2 separate regions of the Homo sapiens genome follow, and region 1 is linked to region 2. Evidence: promoter capture Hi-C in 16 types of primary human blood cells and fetal thymus (Javierre and others, 2016). All regions are on one chromosome and are shown on one strand. Each heading gives the region's core, a stretch centred on a gene start or on the middle of the fragment in contact. The rest is flanking DNA. Distances are from core to core; before and after follow the strand shown.

Region 1 (5,688 bases), core at 1,938-4,437, 86 kb before region 2:
AGCACAGACCGCACAGGTTAAGGGCTCAGCCCCACAAGGCTACTCCCCACTTCAGATGCCATCCACAAGTCCCAGGTTGTCACCCGACTTCTAACCAATCGGCTATAAGTTGGGGGTTCCCAAAACCTCCAGGTTTGATATTTTGCTATAATGGCTCACAGAACTCAGTAAAACATTTAATTATATTTAAGGTTTATTATAAAGGATATTATAGCAGATACAGATTAACAGCCAGGTGAAGAGGTGCATAGCGTGAAGTGTTTGGGATGGGGCTCCAAGCCTCCATGCCCTTGCCAGCTATGCCCTGTGCCCAGCACCTTAGTGTGTTCACCAGCGTGGAAGCTCTCAGAACCCGATGGTCTGATGATTTTTATGGAGGCTTCATCATATAAGCAAGTCATCTTATTAGAACAAAAGACACTATCACCTAGGAAATCTCAAGGGTTTTAGGAGCTCTGTATCAGGAACTGGAGGCAGAGACCAAATATATATTCTGATATCATGAGACCTCAGACCTTTTTGCTTCCTACTCCTCTTGTGGGGCAGTGAGTTCCAGGATCAGCCCTGTTGTTCTCTCCATGTTCTTACAGTTACTGAATTTTTGCTGGGCGCCAGAGGTACATAAAAGTTGTAGCCTTTTCTATGAGACCTGCTTGAGACACCTTTGCAGAGAAATGCAGCCAAGACTAATGCAGCCTAATCTATGCCTAGGTGCCTGAAAGAAGACCCTGCTACCATGTCCCTGCTGCAGAGAAGCCTTGATCCTGAGAAGACCCTGGGTCTAGTGGACGTGCTCTACACAGCTGTGCTGGACCTAAACCGCTGGAGGGCTGGAAGGTTGGTGTCTGTGGTTTGCATTAGATGCATACCGAGGGACAGTGTGACTATGCACAGTTTCATGTGTGCTTGTGTCATTGATAGTATACGGTATTGTAAAGAAGGCAGTAAGGACTTTTTAGTAACTTTTATTTTCAGAATAATTTAAAACCTGCAGCAAAGTGGCAAGAATAATACAAAGAACTGCTCCATGCCCTGTACCAGATTCCCCTATTTGCTAACTTTTTTGCCTTCCTTTATTTTGTCATTTGAGAGGAAGTCCATCAAGAGGACTTTTAACTCAACTCATATTCTCCTTATGAATTAAGAACAGAGAAATGTTTAGAAAATTTGCTTATGTCTTTTAGAATTTTTTTTCTTTTTCAATCAGTTCTCTCAGGTTGAACTTGAGAAATGTGTATACATCTGGTAGTGGCCTTAAACATCTAGCCATGGCCCCTCTCCCTTTTTCTTTTCTTTTCTTTTCTTTTCTTTTCTTTTCTGTCTTGGTCTTTGTCTTTGGTCTTGTCATCTTGTCTTTTTAGGATCTGGCTCTGTTGCCCAGCCAGGCTGGAGTGTAGTGGTACAATCTCAGCTCACTGCAATATTGCTCTCCATCCATGCTATCCATCCCATCCATCCCCCAGCTCCTGGGCTCAAGTCATCCTCCTACCTCAGCCTTCCGAGTAGCTGGGATTACAGGTGTACGCCCAGCTAATTTTTGTATTTTTCATGAAGATGGGGTTTCGCTGTGTTGGCCAGGCTGGTATCAAACTCCTGACCTCAAGTGCCTGCCTCGGCCTCCCAAAGTGCTGGGATTACAGGCGTGAGCCACCATGCCCAACCTTTTCTCCCTTTCTTAACTCATGAGTACACAAAGGCCAGAATAGTGAAGTGACTTTTCCAGGGTCACACAGCCTTCACCTGCCTCAGCTCCTGCCCCATGCCCTTTCGCTCTTTAGGGCTCCATTTTAGTATGGGAAAAATGTGCTCAGGAAACTTTGAAAGTCACAGCCATCTGTTGGGACAACGTTGGCACATAGTATCCCTGCATCCCCCCACCACCTCCCTCTGCTTTGTGGAGTTGTCCATTGTCCCTCTGCTGCATTTGCGTGGCTGTAGCCCCTGTCCTCCAGGCACAAATCTAGCTTCTGCAAGTTGCATCCCCACATCTAGCCATGCTTTCCCCTCCTGTGCCACCATTAGAGGATTTCACTGAATCACACTCCTCAGGCCAGAATCCTAGCAGAACTTCCAGTCCTGCGTTAGACACTGTAGATTTCATACTCTCCAAACCCCTGGGTGTTCATTTATATATAAAATAAGTGAACCCGATACCAACCTGAGAGGTTTTTCTTGCTCTCAACGCCATTCTTAAATACAAAGAGGTCCATTTTATTATTTTATATATTTGTCTTTTTTTTTTTTAAACAAATTTCTGTTTAAATAGGGAGCAAGCTTTACCCTGCATACAGATCCAGCTGCAAAGGGAGATCTGTGATTTTGGCAACCAGGCTGACCTGCCTTCTGGAAATGGAAACAAATCTTCAGGTGGCCTGCAGAAGACATTCTCCAAACTGACATCCCGGTTCACCAAGAAAGCTTCATGTACCAGCTCCAGCAGCAGCACAAATTATTCCATCCAAAATACCCCTTCCAAAAACATCTTCATAGCTGGATGTTCCGAAGAGAAGGCCAAAATGCCTGGCAATATTGATACAAGGTTACAAAGCATTTTGAACATTGGTAATTTCCCCAGGACTACAGACCCTTCACAGTCAGCTCAGAATTCCAGTAATACAGTGGCCAATGGCTTTCTCATGGAGAGGCGTGAGAACTTCCTGCATGGAGATGACGGCAAGGATGAGAAGGGTATGAACTTACCAACTGATCAGGAAATGCAAGAGGTGATAGATTTTCTCTCGGGCTTTAACATGGGCCAGTCACATCAGGGCTCTCCGTTGGTGACAAGGCATAATTCTGCTGCCACAGCCATGGTGACTGAGCAGAAGGCAGGAGCCATGCAACCACAGCAGCCGTCACTGCCTGTGCCCCCTCCACCACGGGCACCCCAGGCTGGGGCACACACACCTCTGACACCCCAGCCGGGACTGGCACCTCAGCAGCAGTCCCCAAAGCAGCAACAACCTCAAGTCCAATACTACCAACACCTACTCCAGCCCATTGGACCGCAGCAGCCCCCGCCCCAGCCTCGGGCACCTGGGAAATGGGTACATGGCTCATCCCAGCAGCCAGCGCAGGCTGTTGGAGCAGGTCTGTCTCCTCTTGGTCAGTGGCCTGGCATATCTGATCTCAGTTCTGACTTGTACAGCTTGGGTCTGGTGAGCAGCTATATGGATAATGTGATGTCAGAGGTTCTGGGACAGAAGCCGCAGGGACCTAGAAATAACACCTGGCCCAACCGTGACCAAAGTGATGGAGTCTTTGGAATGCTGGGAGAGATTCTGCCTTTTGATCCTGCAGGTATGTGAGGCCTCCCATCCCTCGCCCAGTGTCAACAGCAAATGCAACTGCCGAGGTCTTCCCAGGGCCTGTCTGCTGCAGCCTTACTTGTGAAGGTGAAATCATTTAATCCCCCTTTACGACCCTTTCTCACTGTGGAGGCAAGTATGGGGCAGATCTACCAAGATGGGAAACAGTGGTGAGAAAGGGGCTGAGAACATGAGTGGACTATTTTTCTTACTTTATAGAGAACAGAACTGAGGCTAAGAGAGGTTACTTGAACAGCTCAAAGTCCCATAGTTCAAGTAGGCTCCAGTCTAGGCCTGCCTACTCCCGGCAGCCAAGGTCAGCAGCCCTTTGTGGGGTGCTTTTTTCCTGATTATATAACCTGTTCTTTGCGATGCTTTTTTTTTTTGCCTAAACTCTAGGACCTATGACAGGTGACAGACACCCTCCTGCCTTCATAGAATACAGCTTCTCCTGGGCTAGACAATGAAAATACCACCAGAGTCATCTTAAAAAATTAGAGAAGGAATTTACAAACAAGAACAAACTAGGAGGAGGAATTAAGGGGGAAAAGCCAAAAATAAGTAAATTAGAAAGAAAAATAGAGTAGAAATTGCAAATAACTCTAAAGGATCTTTGGAAGACCAATAAAATGTATAAGCCAATTTATTCTAAGCTTGATTAAGGGAGAACAAAGAGAAACAAAATTAGGAAATAGAAAGGATACATTAAAAGCGCTTTAGTGGCTCATGCCTGTAATCCCAGTACTTTGAGAGGCTAAGGCTGGAGGATCACTTGAGGCCAGGAGTTCGAGACCAGCCTGGTCAACATCACAAAACCCTCATCTCTACTAAAAATTAAACAAAATTAGCTGGGTGTGGTGGTGCTTAGGAAGCTGAGGCGGTAGGATCCCTTGACCCCAGGATTTTGAGGCTGCAGTGAGCTATGATCATGCCACTACACCCCAGCCTGGCTGACAGAGAGAAACCCTGTCTCAAAAAAAAGCCACTTTAAGACAGTACCATCTAAGACTTAATAGCAATACATTTGGAAATTCAGCAGAAAATGGATTCTTTCCTAGCAAAATAGGCATTACAAAATTATACCAAGAAGTGGAAAACCTGGCCAGGCATGATGTCTCATGCCTGTAATTTCCAGCACTTTGGAAGGCTGAGGTAGGCAGATTGCCTGAGGCCAGGAGTTCAAGACCAGTTTGGCCAACATAGTGAAACCCCCATCTCTACAAAAAATAAAAAATTAGCTGGGTGTGGTGGCACATGCCTGTAGTCCCAGCTCCTTGGGAGGCTGAGGTGGGAAGATCGCTTGAGCTCAGGAGGTTGAGGCTGCAGTGAGCCATGATCACACCACAGCAGCCCAGCCTGGGCAACAAAGTAAGACTCTGTCTCTAAAAAATAAGTAAATACATAAAAAATAAAAAAGACTATCTACTAAAAGCTAATAGCAAATAGTGCCTTATATAATGAAACAAAAATCATTTCAGTTAATATCAGGAATCAGACAAGGGCGACTGTTATCACCTGTAGCATGTAACTTTGTCTTGGACTTCACAGCAAATGCAGCAAGACAAAAAGCAATAAAATAAGTGGTCTAAGCTTTGGAAAATGATAAATTAAGCAGCACATCTTTTTGCTGATAATAGAATTGAACCCCCCCCACAAAAAAAACCATCTAAAATTAGTAAGAGAATTTGGTAACATAGGTACATGCAAACTTTTTTCTCTAATTTAGCAAAAGGCATACACAGAAGTAGAAAATGTATTTCATTCACAGGGGAGTACTGTGAAATGTTACAAATAAGTATAGCAAATACTTGTACAAGTAAATCACCACCATAAGAGGACACTCCAGGCCGGGCGCTGTGGCTCACGCCTGTAATCCCAGCACTTTGGGAGGCCGAGGCGGGCGGATCACGAGGTCAGGAGATCGAGACCATCCCGGCTAAAACGGTGAAACCCCGTCTCTACTAAAAATACAAAAAAATTAGCCGGGCGTAGTGGCGGGCGCCTGTAGTCCCAGCTACTTGGGAGGCTGAGGCAGGAGAATGGCGTGAACCCGGGAGGCGGAGCTTGCAGTGAGCCGAGATCCCGCCACTGCACTCCAGCCTGGGCGACAGAGCGAGACTCCGTCTCAAAAAAAAAAAAAAAAGAGGACACTCCTTGCTGAAACACCCAGCATTTGTTACAGGAGGGAAGTTAATGCTGGGGTTAACACTCCTTTCTCTTTTTTTTTGAGACAGAGTCTCACGTTGTTGCCCAGGCTGGAGCGCAGTGGCGCGATCCCCACTTACTTGCAACCTCTGCCTCCTGGGCTCAAATGATTCTCCTGCCTCAGCTTCCTGAGTAGCTGGGACTACAGGTGCCTGCCACCACACCCAGCTAATTT
Region 2 (6,011 bases), core at 837-3,336:
CTGCCCTTCCAGGGTCCAGGGCCAGCTGTCACAGTGGCAGCTAGGAAGGTAGCTCCTCTCTAGTCCAGAGGGCTGGTGTTGTCTGCACAGCCGTTCTGGTGGGCATTCTAGGGGGGAGGAGAGCAGCGAAAGAGCCAAGAGCAGTGGTCAGCCTCTTGTGTACACCTCTGACACGTGCACTCCAGTGCTTCCTATGCTGTTTCTGGCACCTGATCAAGCCACTGAACCTGCTCTAGCTGCTGGAGGTTTTTGCTCTGTGACCCTGGCTGTTTAGACCTGCCCATGTTCATCAGCCCAGGTCCCCGCCCTCACCCACTCCCATCTTCTGCTCCTGCAGTATCCCAGGAAGGGGTCTTTACTCCGTTCTGGAGACTGTCCCTTTATCCAGCTGCCTTCCAGTCTTCCCCTTTCTTTATTTTTAACATGATCAACCCCTTCCCTTCAGCCCCATAACAGCAGTATAAAAACACTCCCAGCCATGTTCAGACATGCTCTGCCTACGTAGATGAGGATAATGAGGCCTAGGTGATCATGGGGTGGGCTTGTTTCTTGCATTTAACATTATATTTGGAGCATTTTCCCATTAATATTTTTCCCACAACATAATTTATAATTGCTCTATTTTTTAAATATACATCAAAAGCTTTATACAATTTTTAGCCACTTGTATTTTCCAATTTTTATTCCCATGATGGCCATCCCTGTAACTAAATTTATATATATTTTAAATCAATGATAACTGCTACAGGACAGTTTCCTAGAATTGGAATGAATGAGTCAAAAGTTGTGCACAATTTTAGGGTTTTTTTTTCTTTTTTTTCGAGACAGGGTCTTGCTCTGTCTCTCAGGCTGGAGTGCAGTGGTAAGGGCATAGCTCACTGCAGCCTCGACCTCTCAGGCTTAAGTGATCCTCCTGCCTCAGCCTCCTGAGTAGCTGGGACTACAGGTGCAAGCCACCACGCCCTCTAGAGAAGCTTTGCTTTGGAATCTTTACCTGGAGTGTGTTGGAGTGCTTGTTTCCCAATCCCTTGATAAGTGTTACTTATTTTTTCTTTCTACCAGTTTAGTAGGTGAAAAACTTTTTTTTTTTTTTGAGACAGAGTCTCGCTGTATTGCTCAGGCTGGAGTGCAGTGGTGCAACCTCCGCCTCCTGGGTTCAAGCAATTCTCCTGCCTCAGCCTCCTGAGTAGCTGGGGCTACAGGCTTGTGCCACCACCCCCAGCTGTTTCGGTGTTTTTTTTTGTTTGTTTGTTTGTTTGTTTTTTTGAGACGGAGTCTGTTGCCCAGGCTGGAGTGCAGTGGCGCGATCTCGGCTCACTGCAACCTCTGCCTCCTGGGTTCAAACGATTCTCCTGCCTCAGCCTCCCGAGTAGCTGGGATTACAGGCGCACGCCACCACGCCCGGCTAATTTTTGTATTTTTAGTAGAGATGGGGGTTTCACCATGTTAGTCAGGCTGGTTTCAGAACTCCTGACCTCGTGATCCACCCGCCTCGGCCTCCCAAAGTGCTGGGATTACAGGCGTAAGCCACCGCGCCCGGCAGGTGAAAATCTTACCATTTTGCATGGTTTACATTTTTTTCTTTTTTGAGACGGAGTCTTGCTCTGTTACCCAGCCTGGAGTGAAGTGGTGCGATCTTGGTTCACTGCAACCTCCACCTCCAGGGTTCAAGCGATTCTTTTATGGTTTACATTTTAATACGCTTATTGATCATATTGTCCAATTTTTTGTGAGTTTCCTGTTCACATCCTTTGCCTATATTTTTTTGGGGGTGACACTTGTTAATTTGTAAGAGCTCTTTACGTATAGGGACATCAGTTTTCTAACCTGTAAGGAAGTCTTGGCTGGGAGTTGAAACCCCAGGCTAGAAGGCGACCCTTAGACTTTTTAGGTCTGATGGCGGGCCTATGCTGGTGTGGGAATAACACCGCCGGTCTCAGCTGGAGGTCGCCAGCCCTTTGCAAGAGCCTGCCGGTCCCCGCGGGCTGCAGCACACCCCGGCGCGATGTGCCCTGCCTGTGTCTGCCGGAGGCTGTAGTGCGCAGGAGCGGAAACCAGGCCGCCCTTCCCCCACCCGCTTCCGGCCGCGGCTCGGTTCTCCCGCCTCCGCCTCCGCCGCGGCTCGTGGTTGTCCCGCCATGGCACTGTCGCGGGGGCTGCCCCGGGAGCTGGCTGAGGCGGTGGCCGGGGGCCGGGTGCTGGTGGTGGGGGCGGGCGGCATCGGCTGCGAGCTCCTCAAGAATCTCGTGCTCACCGGTTTCTCCCACATCGACCTGGTGAGGGCCGGGCGCGCGCGCGTGAATGGCGGGCTGTGGTGCGGGGGCTGGGATTCGGGGGTTCCGGGGCTCCAGGGGCTCTGAGGCTCAGGGCCCGGAGCCCGGGACCGGAGTTGCGGAGCGGGGGCAGGCTGAGAGGCTCGGGTTGTGCCCCCCCCGCGGGAGGAGACTGTTCTTTGGGCACGGGGCGGGCCTCCGCTCGCTGGGCCGGCTCCGGACGCCGAGGAGGCCGCGGGCCCCCGCCTCCCCGGCAGCGCCAATGTGTGGCGCTTCGTGGGCGTGAAGCCGCCTCTTATCCTCCCTTCAAAACAAATTCCCGGCTGTTAGGAGATGCGGGAGAGGATTGAGTCCCTCGCGGATGTTGTGACTTTAATTTTGAGGTCCCTGTCGTAACTCCGAAGTAACGACGCGGGGCGGAGGATGGCAATGATAGCGACCAACGCGTCCCGAGCGCTGGTCACGAGCGGGTTTACACACGGAACGCGCACCATCTTCATACCACCCGAGGAGTGCAAACGCTATTTCCACCCTGCTTTATTTTTAACAGATGAGGAAAGGGAGACGCAATGGGGTTGAGTAACTTACCCTGGGTCACGGAGCGAGTGGCAGGGCTCCCGCAGGCTGCGTGACTGTCATTGCTCTCACAGTAGACGGTACACTCGCTTGTTTCATTAAAGACGTTAGGACTGTGCCTTTTGCATTGGTGTACGTTGACAAGCCAGTGCTATTTTGAATCGTTATTTCTACTAATGCAAACTTTTTAGAGATTGGAGATGTTACTGGCCCTTCGGTGTGAGTTTAAAGTGTCTTAAGGGCTAGTGGAAACATGGAATGAACAAAAAAGTACGGGTGGCCGACTGAGTCATTGTTTCTTTCCTTTATGTATTATATATTTAAGCAAAAATTAGATAAAACTTAAAACATGATACTTTTTTAACCATGTGTAAAAGTTTCCTTTCACAGTTCTCAGGTTAATAGTAAATGAAATTGTGTATGGATGAAGGCTTGAATTAAGGGAGGCAGCAAAAATTCAATAAACGTTTGCCATGTATCATTTAAGAAAAAGAACAGAACCTGGGCAACATAGAGAAACCCCGTCTCTACAAAAAAAGAAAATTAGCGGGGCGTGGTGGTGTGCGCCTGTGGTCCCAGCTACCCGGGAGGCTGTGTCAGGAGGATCGCTTGAGCCTGGGAGGTCGAGGCTGCAGTGAGCTGTGTTTGCACCACTGCACTCCAGCCTGGGCAACAGAGGGAGACCCTGTCTCAAAAAACAAAGAAAAAGAACAGGGCATAGTTAAATTTAATATTTTGTACTTGAAAGAGTAATTCGATTGAAAGAGAAATACTTTAGTATTTTTTGAGACAGGGTCTGGCCCTGTCACCCTGGCTAGAGTGCAGTGGCCCGATCTCGGCTCACTGCAACCTCCGCCTCCCAGGCTCCAGTGATCCTCCACCTCAGCCTCCCGAGTAGCTGTGACTACAGGCATGTGCCACCTAATTTTATTTTTTCTATTTCTTGTAGCCACCAGGGTCTCACTATTTTGCTTAGGCTGGTCTTGAAGGTCTGGGCTCAAGCGATTCTCTCACTTTGTCCTCCCAAAGTGTTGGGATTACAGGTATGAGCCACCACTCCCGGTGTAGAGAAATATGTTAATATATTTTCAGTTAGTGTTTACCTCGACAGCACATATAGTTTTAATGAATTCACATATTTTTATGGCATCCAGGGAGTTTCCTGAAATATTTTCCAGGATGATTAAACAAACAAAATATACCATTCTTTCAAAGTATTTTTGAGAAGTTTATCTCTGACATTAAATCTAGATTCTTACATGCATTAAATTATTCTTTATCAGTTTAACAATTTTGGTATGGCGATTCGAAAAACGCTTTCTCCACTAATGTAGCAGATATCAAAAGTTCTGGATTACAGGTGCTGAGAGTAGTGATACAGCTCAAACATACGTAAACGTTTGTCATTTATCTGGGGTTTATGCATTTGTAGATTGATCTGGATACTATTGATGTAAGCAACCTCAACAGACAGTTTTTGTTTCAAAAGAAACATGTTGGAAGATCAAAGGCACAGGTAACTATATTTCTCATACCATTTCTATAACTTGATGGAGCTTCTATTTGTGATACCAGATTAATCCTGCCTGTCATATAGGAGGGAAAAAATGGGTGAAGCTCTCATTTCAGCTGAGAGATTGTGAAGGATAAAGATATATCAAGTAAAGGACTAAAGATTAAGCCCTCCTTTTTTGTTCTAAAAAGGAAATAATCCCGTGATGGTGTAACTTTCATGGCCTCTTTATATTTAAGTTTCTGATGCTTTGCTTAGGATGCACCTTGTGTTCCTACACCCCCTAGAGGTTGACTACTGCTATGTTTGGGGGCTAGAGGAGCGTTATGCTGCTGTCCTAGTTGAAACAAGACAGTTCCCCCGATCTTTGTTTAGTTTTTTTAGTGTTCCTTGGTGATTCAGAGTCTTAAAACATCTTTTCCCTTTGCCTGTCTCCCAACCTGTTTGGCAAACCCCCACTTGTTTCTCTTTTTCTTTCATATTTTGGCTTCCTCCTCCAGGAGTACTTTCCTAAACCTTTTAGACTAAGTCAGGTTGGTTTTTCTCTCATAACAACCTTTACTTTACTTTTCCTATCATTTTCTTTTCTTTTTTTTTTTTTTTTTTTTTTTTAGAGATAGGGTCTCACTCTGTCGCCCCAGGCTGGAGTGGAGTGATGCGGTCATGGCTTACTGCAGCCTAGAACTCCTGGCCTCAAGGGATCCTCCTACACTGGCCTCCCAAGTGCTGGGATTACAGGCATGAGCCACCATGCCTGGCCTTTTCCTGTCATTCTCATGGCATTTATCAGAGTCTGTAGTTGAACTTAATCTGGATTGTTATTTGATTAATGTCTCTCTTGCTTGACATGTACGTTGTATAGTTCCTGGTACATGCAAGATGCTCAGTAAATACTTGTTAAGTGAATGAATGAATGACACTTGGTTACTTCATGTTGTATTTTTGCTGAAGCTTGCCATTCATGTAGAAGTGTGTTTGGTGGTACGTGGGTCAGGGGGGGCTCTCCGGTTATTTTATAAGTATAAAAGTATAATTTTATAAGTGTAGCTTAACCCTAATGCAATTTTCTCACATTTTTGGACTTCTTTGGTGTTTAATATAAATAAGGTACTATGTAAGTAGATAACAGCATTGTGGCTTCCAGAAGCAGATTTCAGATAGGAACAGAAATATTGTAGTAATTCAGTGTTGTTTATTTTTCCAGGTTGCCAAGGAAAGTGTACTGCAGTTTTACCCGAAAGCTAATATCGTTGCCTACCATGACAGCATCATGAAGTATGCTATAGTGATTACATTGCAAAGTTGTATAAGGGTTTTGTAAGCCAAATATATAAGCTCAAAGTCATTCAGCTTTTTTAAAAAAAATGATTTTTCTAGAATTATTAAACAGTGGTGGTTTCTGCTTACAGAGTGGCATTCTTTTTACCAGTTCATAAATACATGGTTTGAATGATTTAGAATGGTGAGATAGTTTAATACTTTTAATAAATAAGTTACTTGGAAATTTATAAAGACCTTATATGCTTGCCTTAAGTAAGAAGATATTTTAAACTATGAAATATCCTTATTTATGATGATTCAGACTTTTCTAAAGTGTTTGCCTTTTTTTGTTTAAAAGTTTCCCTCCCAAAATAATCTGTAGTATGACT

The links. Contacts are between HindIII fragments. The CHiCAGO score rates a contact against its expected background, and 5 or more counts as called.
Region 1: a fragment that was not itself captured here is called in contact with the fragment with the promoter of UBA2 in region 2 in 2 of 17 cell types (naive CD4 T cells and total CD8 T cells); the score reaches 6.8 in naive CD4 T cells.

The regions. Positions count from the first base shown.
Region 1 is chr19:34,339,156-34,344,843 of GRCh38, forward strand. It overlaps GARRE1 (granule associated Rac and RHOG effector 1), which reads left to right. Exons shown (of 14, transcript NM_014686.5): 9 at 712-837; 10 at 2,267-3,300. Among named protein-coding and RNA genes, the nearest start is that of GPI, 23 kb to the right of the region's middle. RefSeq lists an enhancer at 2,991-3,491. The HindIII fragment of the contact is 1,543 bases long and covers 2,417-3,959 here.
Region 2 is chr19:34,426,295-34,432,305 of GRCh38, forward strand. UBA2 (ubiquitin like modifier activating enzyme 2) reads left to right here and starts at 2,087. Exons shown (of 17, transcript NM_005499.3): 1 at 2,087-2,276; 2 at 4,282-4,365; 3 at 5,567-5,637. The coding sequence starts at 2,139. It overlaps LOC124904695 (a long non-coding RNA gene), which reads right to left and starts at 2,070. Exons shown (of 2, transcript XR_007067232.1): 1 at 1,828-2,070; 2 at 1-107. RefSeq lists silencers at 1,975-2,214, 2,245-2,354, 2,425-2,584. The HindIII fragment of the contact is 4,339 bases long and covers 973-5,311 here.